3 separate regions of the Homo sapiens genome follow, and all the other regions are linked to region 3. Evidence: promoter capture Hi-C in 16 types of primary human blood cells and fetal thymus (Javierre and others, 2016). All regions are on one chromosome and are shown on one strand. The core of a region is centred on a gene start or on the middle of the fragment in contact, and the rest is flanking DNA. Distances in the headings are between cores, read along the strand shown.

What was found. Contacts are between HindIII fragments. The CHiCAGO score rates a contact against its expected background, and 5 or more counts as called.
Region 1: a contact is called between the fragment with the promoter of CTDSP2-AS1 here and a fragment that was not itself captured in region 3, in 1 of 17 cell types (neutrophils). The highest score is 5.0, in neutrophils.
Region 2: a contact is called between the fragment with the promoter of CYP27B1 here and a fragment that was not itself captured in region 3, in 1 of 17 cell types (neutrophils). The highest score is 6.1, in neutrophils.

Annotation. Positions count from the first base shown.
Region 1 is chr12:57,834,299-57,838,570 of GRCh38, forward strand. CTDSP2-AS1 (CTDSP2 antisense RNA 1) reads left to right here and starts at 2,793. Exons shown (of 2, transcript NR_188077.1): 1 at 2,793-2,916. The region is part of intron 1 of CTDSP2 (CTD small phosphatase 2); the gene reads right to left. RefSeq lists enhancers at 403-462, 3,023-3,092, 3,682-4,272, 3,883-3,992, 4,053-4,132. The HindIII fragment of the contact is 9,495 bases long and covers 1-4,272 here.
Region 2 is chr12:57,765,779-57,769,517 of GRCh38, forward strand. It overlaps CYP27B1 (cytochrome P450 family 27 subfamily B member 1), which reads right to left and starts at 1,300. Exons shown (of 9, transcript NM_000785.4): 1 at 1,069-1,300; 2 at 229-419. The coding sequence starts at 1,263. METTL1 (methyltransferase 1, tRNA methylguanosine) reads right to left here. Exons shown (of 6, transcript NM_005371.6): 5 at 3,525-3,626; 6 at 2,693-3,373. The coding sequence ends at 3,218. The HindIII fragment of the contact is 11,205 bases long and covers 1-2,183 here.
Region 3 is chr12:57,063,698-57,067,540 of GRCh38, forward strand. NEMP1 (nuclear envelope integral membrane protein 1) reads right to left here. Exons shown (of 9, transcript NM_001130963.2): 5 at 949-1,042; 6 at 374-488. Among named protein-coding and RNA genes, the nearest start is that of NEMP1, 13 kb to the right of the region's middle. The HindIII fragment of the contact is 9,125 bases long and covers 1-3,843 here.

The DNA.
Region 1 (4,272 bases), core at 1,543-4,042, 770 kb after region 3:
GACTACAGTCTTCTTGGGAACTTTTGCTCTCTGCCTCTCTAGGATGAGCTGGTAAAGGACCAGTCTGGGGTCTAGCCCCTACCCCTTGCCCCAGGTTTTCTTGGGCAGGATGTCAAAGTTGGAAGGGGTAAAACAGCACAAGGCTCTGGGATTCCACTCCAGGGAATCCACCCCCACCCCTGCCTGCACCTGCTCTGACCAGCAGATACCTCTGGGGGATCAAGATGACAATGGGGCAGAGGAGGAAGGAGGGGTTGGAGCCAGGAGCTTTGGTCCAAGACCTGCATTGTTCCTTGGTTAAGGGTGAGGGAACCACAGAGTTCAGAGAGGGATCTGAAACTTGTGTCAAAGAGCCTTTCAATGGCTCCTTTCAGCCAGCACTCAGCATTGTGTCCTTGACAGCCAGGTGCAGGCCATCCCCTACCCATCTGTGTGTGATGGGGAGGGGCACAGCCTGCCTTTCCAGGAGAGGAACACTGGGCACAAGAGGATTTACAGGCCCACAGCGATTTCCTTCTTTAAAAACAGAACAAAAAAACAGAGGCTGGGCATGGTGGCTCATGCCTGTAATCCCAGCACTTTGGGAGGCCGAGGCGGGCGGATCACCTGAGGTTGGCAGTTTGAAACCAGCCTGACCAACATGGAGAAACCCCGTCTCTACTAAAAATACAAAATTAGCCAGGTATGGTGGCACATGCCTATAATCCCAGCTACTCGGGAGGCTGAGGCAGGAGAATCGCTTGAACCCAGGAGGCAGAGGTTATGGTAAGCTAGAGATCATGCCATTGCACTCCAGCCTGGGCAACAAAAGCAAAATTCCATCTCAAAAAAAAAAAAAAAGGAAAAAGAAAGAAACCCTGTCTCTACTAAAAATACAAAATTAGCCAGGCGTGGTGGTGCATGCCTATAATCCCTGCTACTTGGGAAGCTGAGGCAGGAGAATTGCTTGAACCCAGAAGGCGGAGGCTGCGGTGAGCCAAGATCACACCATTGCACTCCAGCCTGGGCAACAAGAGCGAAAATCCGTCTCAAAAAAAAAAAAGGGATGAGGTCTCACTATGTTGCCCAGGCTGGCCTTGAACTCCTGGGCTCAAGCAATCCTCCTGCCTCATCCTCTCAAAGTGCTAGGATTACAGGCATGAGCCACCATGCCTGGCCCCCGTAGGAAATTCATTGCACATGGTTTCCCCAACCAGGGAGGGCAGGACTCCAGCGGATGCCATGTAGCCCAACTACGAGCTGCTCTCCCTCCTTCATTCCCTGCTACCCTCTGCGGACACCCAGCCCTCCTCTTCTGCCCAGATGCAGATGTGCTTCTGCTTTCTCTGCCCCAAACATTTGGTTTGGGGCTAGATGTCTGAGAGGACTAGCACAGACCCAATGAGGGAAGCAGCTCTGGCTTAAGAAGAAAGTGAGCTGGTGGCTGAAGACAGGGAAACCAGGCCAGCCATCCAGCTCACTGCTGCGAGTCTTCCTACTGAGGCGGGGTGTGAGGAGAAGAGGGGATGTGAGGAGTATGCCCCCACTGAGGATCATCAGGGCTGGGGTCCAGGCTCTGCCAGTTACTGACTCAGCCACACAGCCTTTTGGAGCCTTAGTTTCCTCATCCATAAACTGGGATAACAGCAAGCCCTCACTCAGGACTGAAAGGATAAACGAAGTTAGAGAGTAAGGCACTGTGCTAACTCTAAAGCTAAATGCTGCGCTTGTTTTAATTAATTATCCAAGGGGAGATGACCACTAAATGGCAACATCATGGGCCTCATTCCAGGAGGCCAGCAACAGACCAGGAGCCCTCCCACCATCATCACGTGGATGAAGCCCAAGAAGATGAGGGAAAGGTGCCTGAGAGCTCTGATCATGAGCAGGTTTCAGAAAGTCAAAATAGCCCCTATACCTTCTCCCAAGTCCACAACAAAATTTGTTTTCCAGCTCACAAACTCCCTGACTGGGTATTCTGTGAAAAACAAAAGCAAGTAAGACTGTTTCACTTGAGACAAAAATCGCTGTCTCCCCTGGTATTCATCCCCACTACTCTCAAGAAGTACCAGGTAAGGACACTATTTGCCCCTATGCATGGGCCGGGGTAGGTGGCTCAAGCCTGTAATCCCAGCACTTTGGGAAGCTGGGCCGGTTGGATCACTGCAGCTCAGGAGTTCAAGACCAGCCTGAGCAACATGGCAAAATCCTGTTCTACCAAAAAAAAATTAGCCAGGTGCACCTGCAGTCCCAGCTTGGCAGGCTGAAGTGGGAGAATCACCGGAGCCCAGGAGTTTGAGGCTGCGGTAAGCCGTGATTGCACCACTGCACTCCAGCCTGGGTGACAGAGTGAGATTTTGTCTTTAAAAAAAAAAAGTGTACATGTACAAACACGTGAACACGTGCACACATACACACAAACGAAGACCAGAGTGACCAGGGCAACACTGTTTTTAATCTTCTCCTGAAAGTCAGGTCCAGATACCACTTTTGTCAACAACACAGCTTTGTGTCCCAGCAAAGGAACTCCTCACACATCTGCCTGCGATTCAGCAGAAGGTAACCTCTGAGACAATCAGATTTTAACAAGCCCATTCAGGTAGAAAGTTGCTTTCTTTTTTGGTTCATCCCCAGAAGTACTTCCTTCCCCACCACCTCCCATCCCCCACAGCAAAGGACTTAGCCTTAGCCTGGCTATCACTATAAAATGGCCCCTCTGAGGGGCCTCCTTCCTCTCAGCTATTGGAGGAAGGAGAGTATTTGGAGCATTTCCGGCCCTTCTTGGACGGCTGCCTGAACCCTGCAGCCAAGACACATTTGACTGGGACTCCCCCATGGAGAGAAGTCCTCCCAGGTCCTCTGCAAGGGGCATCTGTTCCTTGGCTATGGACATGCCCTAAAGTGCCAGGTGGACGGAAGAGCTCCTGGGACCAGCAGGTGAGTCGGCAGGGAACAAAAGAGGGTGAGATGCCTAGACAGCCCCCACACACAAAAGACTGCAAACAATGGGGAGGGTGTACTGCTTTCATGCCTGGCCACTGACACTGTTCTCTACAGCTAACAAGCAAGGCAGGGCCGGACCCAGCTTAGCACCGGCTCCCGAAGTTCCAAAAAGTAGCTGTGTATCTAACTGCATGGGCATTTTTTGAAAAAAGCAGTTTTAACACTTTGGGGGGCAAAGGCAGTGGGGATCACTTAAGGTCAGAAGTTCGAGACCAGCATGACCAATATGGTGAAACCCCATCTTTACTAAAAATGCAAAAATTAGCAGGGTATGGTAGTGAGCTCCTGTAATCCCAGCTACTCCGGAGGCTGAGGCACGAGAATCACTTGAATCCAAGAGGTGGAGGTTGCAGTGAGCCGAGATCACACCATTGCACTCCAGCCTGGGGGACAGAGCAAAACTCTGTCTCAAAATAAATAAATAAATAAATAAAATTTAAAAAATTAAAAAGCAGTTTTAGCCATGCTGTTTGGCCCATACCAGCATGTTGTATGCTGGTGCCCTCTCTGCACCAGCAACTGGGGCAGCTCTACCTAAGCCAGTGTCTCCATTAGTTCCCTTTCCCTGGGCAGGAGAGCTCCCTATATGGCTGTCTCTTCTTTCAGACCTGAGTCCTTAATGCCACCTGTGGGGCGAGGGTCACAGGTCACACACTTTCTTGTCTCTGCCCCTTCAGCAATCTGTTCTCTGACCTCAGCTAGAGAGGTAAGAGGACTCAGTTTTGGGAGCAGGGGATTTCTGGCAGTTCTAAAGCACGCTGATTTCAGAATCAGCCTCTAAAGGAGGTATTGCCAAAACACCCTCCTGGGCAGCTCCAACGTACTTTAAAAACGTGCTGGGTTGGGGTGGGCCTCCATAAGTAGCAGATCCTGGACCAGAGACAGAGGAGGCGTTTCCTCATAGACAAGTCAGCTGCAGGCTCAGCCCTGCAAGCCCCACTCCAGAGGACTCTTGAGGGATGTCAGGAAGTGATCTAATAGCCCACAGGGCAGCAGGGACAAGCCTGAGATGCCATCCAAGAAAACTCAAAGGACTGGATCCTGCCCCTGCCTCAGCAGGAGACCCTGCCCTATGTAGCACCAGCCAGAGCAAAGGTATCATTGTGAGGGATTGGAAACCACACTTGCCTACCTGGAGTTACCCCTCCTTCCCCCTAAGGAGGTGTATAACAAGCCCCTGTGGGAGGGGCTACACACAGACAACCTCTCAGTGAGTGTTTCAAGTTCCTGCCTTAGTGCTGTGCCCTTGACTCCTGGAATGCTTAGATATAGTTGAAGCCTAGGAAGAAT
Region 2 (3,739 bases), core at 50-2,549, 700 kb after region 3:
CCCAGTTCCCAGGATTCGGGCCTCAAAGGATAAGGAGGTAGGCGGGGAGTGAGGTTGGGGCTCAACCTGAGTGTGGGTGAAGCAGACTGGGATGGGAACCCCAAGATGCCCAATGGTAGAGTGGGACAGCCGACCTCCCACCATGCCCCCAGATTGATAGTTTCGGGACCCGCAGCAGGAGAGGGCCGCTGCAGGGCGTCTGGGCTTCTGGGGGCAGAGAAGACTCACGCAGTGAGCAGTCCGCAAGCCCGCTGGCGGCAGCGGCGGTGCTCCGTCCAGGGCGAGAAGCTGCAGCGCTCGGGCCGGGGTCCCTCCTGTCGCAGCAGCTCCTCGACGAGTGCAGGGGCAGCCACGTACACGGTGCGCACTGTCCCAAAGCTGGCTAGCCACACCGGCCCGAAGTGCGCGGCGCCCTGCACCTGGGGGAGCGGACACAGCGGACACTTGGATACCTGGGCGGGGACTTTCAGCTTGACCTGTGCCCACGCCAAGGGCGTTGACTGGGCTTGGGAATAGGGAGCTTCTGCTCTTTCTCGGGTGCCCAACTAGTGTATGCCTTTGATACTGCAAACTCCTCCTCTCTCATTTCCCATCCCTAGAAAGTTTGAGTGTGATGGGCAAAACCGGAACTTTGTGCAAGGCAGACATTCAGGACCTCTCTGATCATCTCGGTCGAGGAGAAATCTCTAAAAGTTCCATGTCTGGACTGTCCATCTCAGGACGAGTCCTCAGTGAATGAAAAGGAACCCATGTAGCTTTAAGCCGCAAGCAGGCGGAGGGTACTGCCCACTCCGGCCTCCCCCTCCCGCGCACTTGTACTTTATCTGCAGGATCTCCACACCTCAGGACAGCGAGAAGGCGCTTTCGCAGCGCCCTCTGCTAAGAGTCGGGACGGGCTCTGCCCGAGTGTAGCCACACCGCCCCCAGCCTCAACTCGCCTTTTCCTTATTTCATGGGCATCCGTTCTCTCTGGCTGTCCCACATTTGCTCTGCACTAGTCAGTCCTTTCTGACGCTGTCAAAACCAGTTTCCCCAGCACTCTGTCTCGGGAAAGGCGTCCCTTCCTACCTGCAGCTCGTGTAGCCTCGACAGCCCCCCCTTGCAGAAAAGTTCGGCCAGAAAGCTGGGCGTAGAGGGGCCTGGGATGTCTGCCAAGCTCCGGCGTGCTGAGTGGTACTCTCGGTAGCCTAGGGAGGCGCCCAACTCGGGCGCCCAGCGGACGCGATGGAACACTCTGGAGGCGTACTTGAGGGTCTGGGTCATGGTCTGGTTCAGGGTGCTCGCGAAAGAAAGCGCTTCTCCTGAGCATCATATCTCAACCCCTATTTAACCTTTGGGTGAGGTGATGACGCCCCCTCTCCAAGCTCCTCAGCCAATCCCTCCTCCTGAGTGGTCTGTGCTGGGGATTAGCACCCAGGAACAGTAGGCGGGGCTGGGGCTGACTTCACAACTCCCTTGGGTCTCATGTTGCAATGACCCTCATGGGAGGGAGGGCCTAAGATTTTCCTCCTGGGAGAGTGCCTTTGTCTAGGAGCCTCAAAGTCTCATCCTAGGAAAGGCTATAAGGCTTTTTAGTAGGGACTAGGTGACCAAGCTACACTAGTCAGTCTCTGATATTCCCACTTCTACCAGTGAGCCCAGCCCCTTTAGGCCCATCCTCAGGAATTCCCCATCTTTCAGCTCCTCCAGGAAGGGAAGCAGGGGAGGCACAGCTGTAACTGTCCCCACATTCTTGGCTTAGTGGGTTGTATCTTCTCTGCATTATTTTCCTGCACTAGCCACACCTCCCCCTCCTCCTGTACCTAACATATACTGGGCAGATGGCAGGTGGGTTAATGGGCTAAAATGGCTCCTAGAACCTCCATCTTTCTTTCTTGAGGATAAGGGGGTCTCTTGGGTATACAAGCCCCCTCCTTCCAGACATGGGAATTTGGGGCTTGAGAAGCAGAAATGAAACTTTTTGTACATTAGTTAAGTTCAGAGATTGTCTGTGGGGTGTTAGAGGAGCTAAATGGATGTGGATGTTCTAATTCCCCAGCTGACTCGGTCTCCTCTGGGGGGCTTTCTGGTTAGCAGCTCCTTTCTACTTTTAGCCTCAGAATCCTGTGGTGGCTCATGCCTATAATCCCAGCACTTTGGGAGGCTGAGGCAGGAGGATGGCATGAGGCCAGGAGGTTGAGACAAGCTTGAGCAACATAGCAAGACTGTCTCTACAGAAGAAGTTTAAAAATTAGGCTGGGCACGGCAGCTCATGACTGTAATCCCAACACTTTGGGAGGCTAAGGTGGGCAGACTGCTTGAGCTCAGGAGTCTGAGACCAGCCTGGGCAACATAGTGGAACTGTCTCTACAAAAAATACAAAAATTAGCCAGGCATGGTGGCGTATGCCTGTAGTGCCTTGAGAGGCTGAGGTGGATTACATGAGCCCGGGAGGTCAAGGCTGCAGTGAGTTATGATTGTACCACTGCACTCCAGCCTAGGCAACAGAGAGAGGGCCTGTCTCTAAAAAAAATTAAAATAAAAGAATCTCCCACAGTTTACCTCTCTGCTCCTTACTCCCTCATTCCCCACTGCAACTCTATCAGGCTCTGTGCCAGTCAGCTAGCTCTGAAGTTCTGGAATTGAAGGTCAATGTGAAAAAGGAGAGGGTCTCCACCCCCACACCTTCCCAAGGACTCTCCAGAGACAACACTTAGGGAACACAGATTCCCCAGGTCAAGTCTTACGCAGGGAGAGGACAGGAGGATGGTAGAAGGCATATGATACATACTCCACCCTTTCCTGAGAAATGGCAGAATAGGCATGTGTACACATATACATGTTATCCCAGGATCCACAAAGCAAACAGAAGTGGTAATTGAGCCTAGCAAGCAGTTTAGATGGACTACATTCCTCATTCCAGCTGAGGAGAGATCTCACAAGGAGAAAGGAGTGCTAAGGAAGAGCAAGACCCCACAGCCTTCCAAAGATCCCCTATGGTCCAAAGTCCTTTGACCATCTCAGTCAGCTGCTTTGTTTTCTGTTGGCAGTGGAGGGACAAGGTGAGAGGAGCCAGGGGTAGTCATGAACACCAGTGGGTTCTGCCCTGGGCAGCTCCCCACCTTCTTTAAGAGAGTACTGTGTCTCAGCTCCAGCAGTCTCAACTGGGAAGACCCAGGACTCCTGCTCTTTTCTCTAATCCCTGGGAGACGAGGTCCAGCTAAGGTAGAGTAAGCAGTCAGTGACCAGGCAGGCTGGTTTGGGAGGTCACTGCCTGGAGGACGGGATCTTGTATTCTTCGGAAGATGGCTGGGAAATTCTTCCCTCCATTACGTAGAACTTTCTTCCCCTCCTCAGTTGAGGTGCCTAGATGTCCCACAACGGGGTCTTCACTCTGGGAGAAGGAAGGGTCCAATAAGTCCTTGCCCACTGTTCAGACTGCCCCTGGCCCTTAGACACCTATCCCATCCTCCTGGCACTGAGTTAAGTCCAAATACAGAACCACTCTGGAAAGGGCCTCCACCTCCTCTAGGTCCCCTACTCACCAGGTCCTCCAGAGGCACACGCTCAAACAGTGGGTGCTCTTCGAAATGAGTGCACATCCAGTCGTGTAGCTCCAGCACATCGGTTATGGTATACACCAGCCCCTGCATAGGCAAAATCACCCTAGACAGGAGGCTGCATGCAACGTCAGCAGCCAGATGAAGGAAGTGGTGGTGTGAGTCCCTAAATGCACCCCCACTGAATTCTTAGTGAAGGG
Region 3 (3,843 bases), core at 48-2,547:
GCAGTTCATTCAGAAATGAAGGAGAAAAAAATTAACTGCGGAGTCTTTTACTTAAGGTCCCCAAGTATATTTAAAATATGATTCCATTAATAAAGTCAACTTACAGCTTTTCAGAAAGATGTTTATTGTGTAAAGAAAGGTATATTTATAAATACCAATAAATGAACATCTTCGCCTTAACAGCACCATTCTAATTTAAGAGAAGGTGATAATTGTAGAGGGATTAGAAATAAGTGAAAAACTATGATTTTTAAAAGTTTAAAAAAATGACATGAACTATTAAATCCCATAAGCAGGCAAAATCTTTTCATGATCAAATTAACTGAAACAGCCTATAAACGTACAAAAGGAAAGCAAAACCGACAACACTTACTTAAAAGATACTGCCAGTAACACCTCCAGATCTCTTGTAAATTTTTAAAAACTAGTTGAATGAGGTACAGAGAAAAAGACCAGCCTCCCACCAGGATGACGTAAATGGGACTTTTCTAAGACAGAGAGTAGAAGTGAAAGCAAAAAGTTACAACAGGCTTTCCATACATAAAAGAAGCAAAATGGAACTATGATTTTTTTTTTAAAAAATTCAACCTACTCAAAATGCACAAAAAACACTTCTCTTAAAAAGATGTCCTTTATACTTAAAATGGTACAGTCTGCAACGAACACTGGGAAGATGAAATGCTAAATAACTTAAAAGCCTGGCTATATAATTAAAAAACAGGAAGCAGACTTTAATCCCCCTCTGAGCACAGGATTTTATATAAAAAGAAAGAATTTGTAATCAGGCTCCAAGTTTCATCGTGGAAAGTACCTTTCTGAATCAAGGAGAGTAGGATATTGACTCATCAGCCATCAATACACATTTTCAGTTTTCTAAGATTACCCAGGAAAACAGTCCTTCAGCTATCCAAATTCATTCTAGCTGCACATGAAGATTCTGATACTTACCTTAGGCATAAACTTAGATAGTATAAAAATGATGATTAGCAGAGAGGCCACAATTCCCACAGTCATCCCAGTAGAGTAGTAGAAAATTTGACTTCTGCAGGAAAAAAATGTATTTCATGACCATATGTATATATTTCATACATAGCACTGTTGAAACTAGGACAACTAACCCAGCCGAAAGATTTTAAAAGGTACAAGATTAGAGCAGTACAAGCATCAGAGACATTTCAAATTTGGTTCCAGACCACTGCAATAAACCAAATATTGCAATTGCAGTAAGTAAGTCACACAAATTTTTTGGTTTCCCACTGCATATAAAAATTGTTTACACTATATTATAGTATATTAAGTGTACAACAGCATTATGTCTTAAAAATATATATTCCTTAATTAAAAATACTTTGCTAAAACCTGCTAAAGATCATCTACGCCTTCAGTGAGTCATCATTTTTTTTGCTGGTGGAGGGTCTCACTTCCATGTTGATGGCTGTTGACTGATGAAGGCAGTGGTTTCTGAAGGCTGGAGTGGCTGTGGCAATTTCTTAAAATATAATGAAGTTTGCTGCATTGACTCATCCTTTCAATGAAGATTTCTCTAAAGCATGCAATACTGTCTGATAGCATTTTACCACAACTTCTTTCAAAACTGGAGTCAATCCTCCAACAGCATTAACCCTTAACAAGAGGATCACCCCTCCTTTGAAGCTAGGCACTGACTTCTCTCTCGCTATCAAAGTCCTCAATGGCATCTTCTTCTAGTATAAGGCTATTTTGTCTACACTGAGGAGCTCTTTAATTGTAGCCACTTTCAACAATGATGTTAGCTAGATCTTCTGAATAACTTGCTACAGCTTCTATATCAGTGCTTGGTTCATCTTTTTTTTTTTTTTTTTTGAGACAAAGTCTCACTCTGTTGCCCAAGCTGGGGTGCGATGGCGTCATCATGGCTCACTGCAGCCTTGATCTACTGGGCCCAGGTGATTCTCCCACCTCAGCCTCCCGAGTAGCTGGTACCATGACTTTTTTGTATTTTTTGTAAAGGCAGGGTTTCACCATGTTGCTCAGGCTGGTCTCGAACTCCCTGGGCTCAAGTGATCTGCCCGCCTCAGCCTCCCAAAGTGCTGGGACTACAGGCCTGAGCCACCACGCCTAGCCTACCTTGCACTTATGTAATAAGACAGCTTCTTTCCTTAAATCTCATGAACCAAGAACCTTCACTAGCTGTAAACTTTTCTTCTGAGGCTTCCTCACCTCTCACCCTTCACAGAATTGAAGACAGTTAGGGTCTTGCTCTGGATCAGCCTTTAGCTTTAAAAAAGTTGTATCTGGCCGGGCATGGTGGCTCAAGCCTGTAATCCCAGCACTTTGGGAGGCTGAGATGGGAGGATCACGAGGTCCGGAGATCGAGACCATCCTGGTTAACACGGTGAAACCCTGTCTCTACTAAAAATACAAAAAAATTAGCTGGGTGTGGTGGCAGGCGCCTATAGTCCCAGCTACTAGGGAGGCTGAGGCAGGAGAATGGCATGAACCTGGGAGGCGGAGCTTGCAGTGAGCCGAGATCACGCCACTGCACTCCAGCCTGGGCAAGAGAGCAAGACTCTGTCTCAAAAAAACAAACAAACAAACAAAAAAAGAGTTGTATCTGGTTTAATCTTCTCAACAGCCAACTAAAACTCTCTCCATATCAGCAATAAGGCTGTTTCACTTTCTTATCACTTGTGTGTTCCCTGGAGTAGCACTTTTAATTTCCTTCAAGAACTTTCCCTTTGCACTCACAACTTGGCTAACTGCTCAGGACAAGAGGTCTAGCTTTCGGTCTGTCTTGGCTTTTGCTGTTCTCACTAAGCATAATCAGAGAGATGTATGACTCTTCCTTTCAGTTGAAGACTCACAATCTACTCTAGGGTTATTAATTGGCCTAGTTTCAATATTGCTGTTTCTCAGGGAATAGGGAGGCCCAAGAAGAAGGGAGACGGGAATAACCAATTGGTTGAGTTGTTAGAACACCCATGACATTTATCGATGAAGTTCACTGTCTAATATGGTTTGGCTGTGTCCCCACCCAAATCTCATCTTGAATTGTAGCTCCCATCATTCCCACGTGTTGTAGGAGGGAACTGGTGGGAGATAATTGAATCATGGGGGCAGTTGCCCTCATACTGTTCTCATGGTAGTGAATAAGTCTCATGAGATCTGATGGTTTTATAAGGGGTTTCCACTTTCACTTGGTTCTCATTCTCTCTTGCCTGCTGCCATGTAAGATGTGCCTTTTGCATTCTGCCATGATTATGAGGCCTCCCCAGCCACCAGGAACTGTGAGTCCATTAAACTTCTTTTTCTTTATAAATTATCCAGTCTTGGGTATCTTTATCAACAGTATGAAAATGAACTAATAGGCTGGGCGCAGTGGCTCACGCCTGTAATCCCAGCACTTTGGGAGGCTGAGGCAGGCAGATCATGAGGTCAGGAGATCGAGACCATCCTGGCTAACACGGTGAAACCCGTCTCTACTAAAAATACAAAAAATTAGCTGCACGTGGTGGCAGGTGCCTGTAGTCCCAGCTACTCGGGAGGCTGAGGCAGGAGAATGGCATGAACCCGGAAGGTGGAGCTTGCAGTGAGCCGAGATCGCGTCACTACACTCCAGCCTGGGCGACAGAGCGAGACTCTGTCTCAAAAAAAAAAAAAAGAAAATGAACTAATATACTGTCTTACATGGACATGTGGTGCCCCAAAATAATTGCAACAGCAGCATCAAAGATCACTGATTATGGATCACCATAACAGTTATAATCATATGAAAAAGTTTGAAATATTATAATTACTAAAATGTGACACACAGACCCCAAGTGAGCACATGCTGTTGGGAAAACGGTGTGATAGATTTGCTTG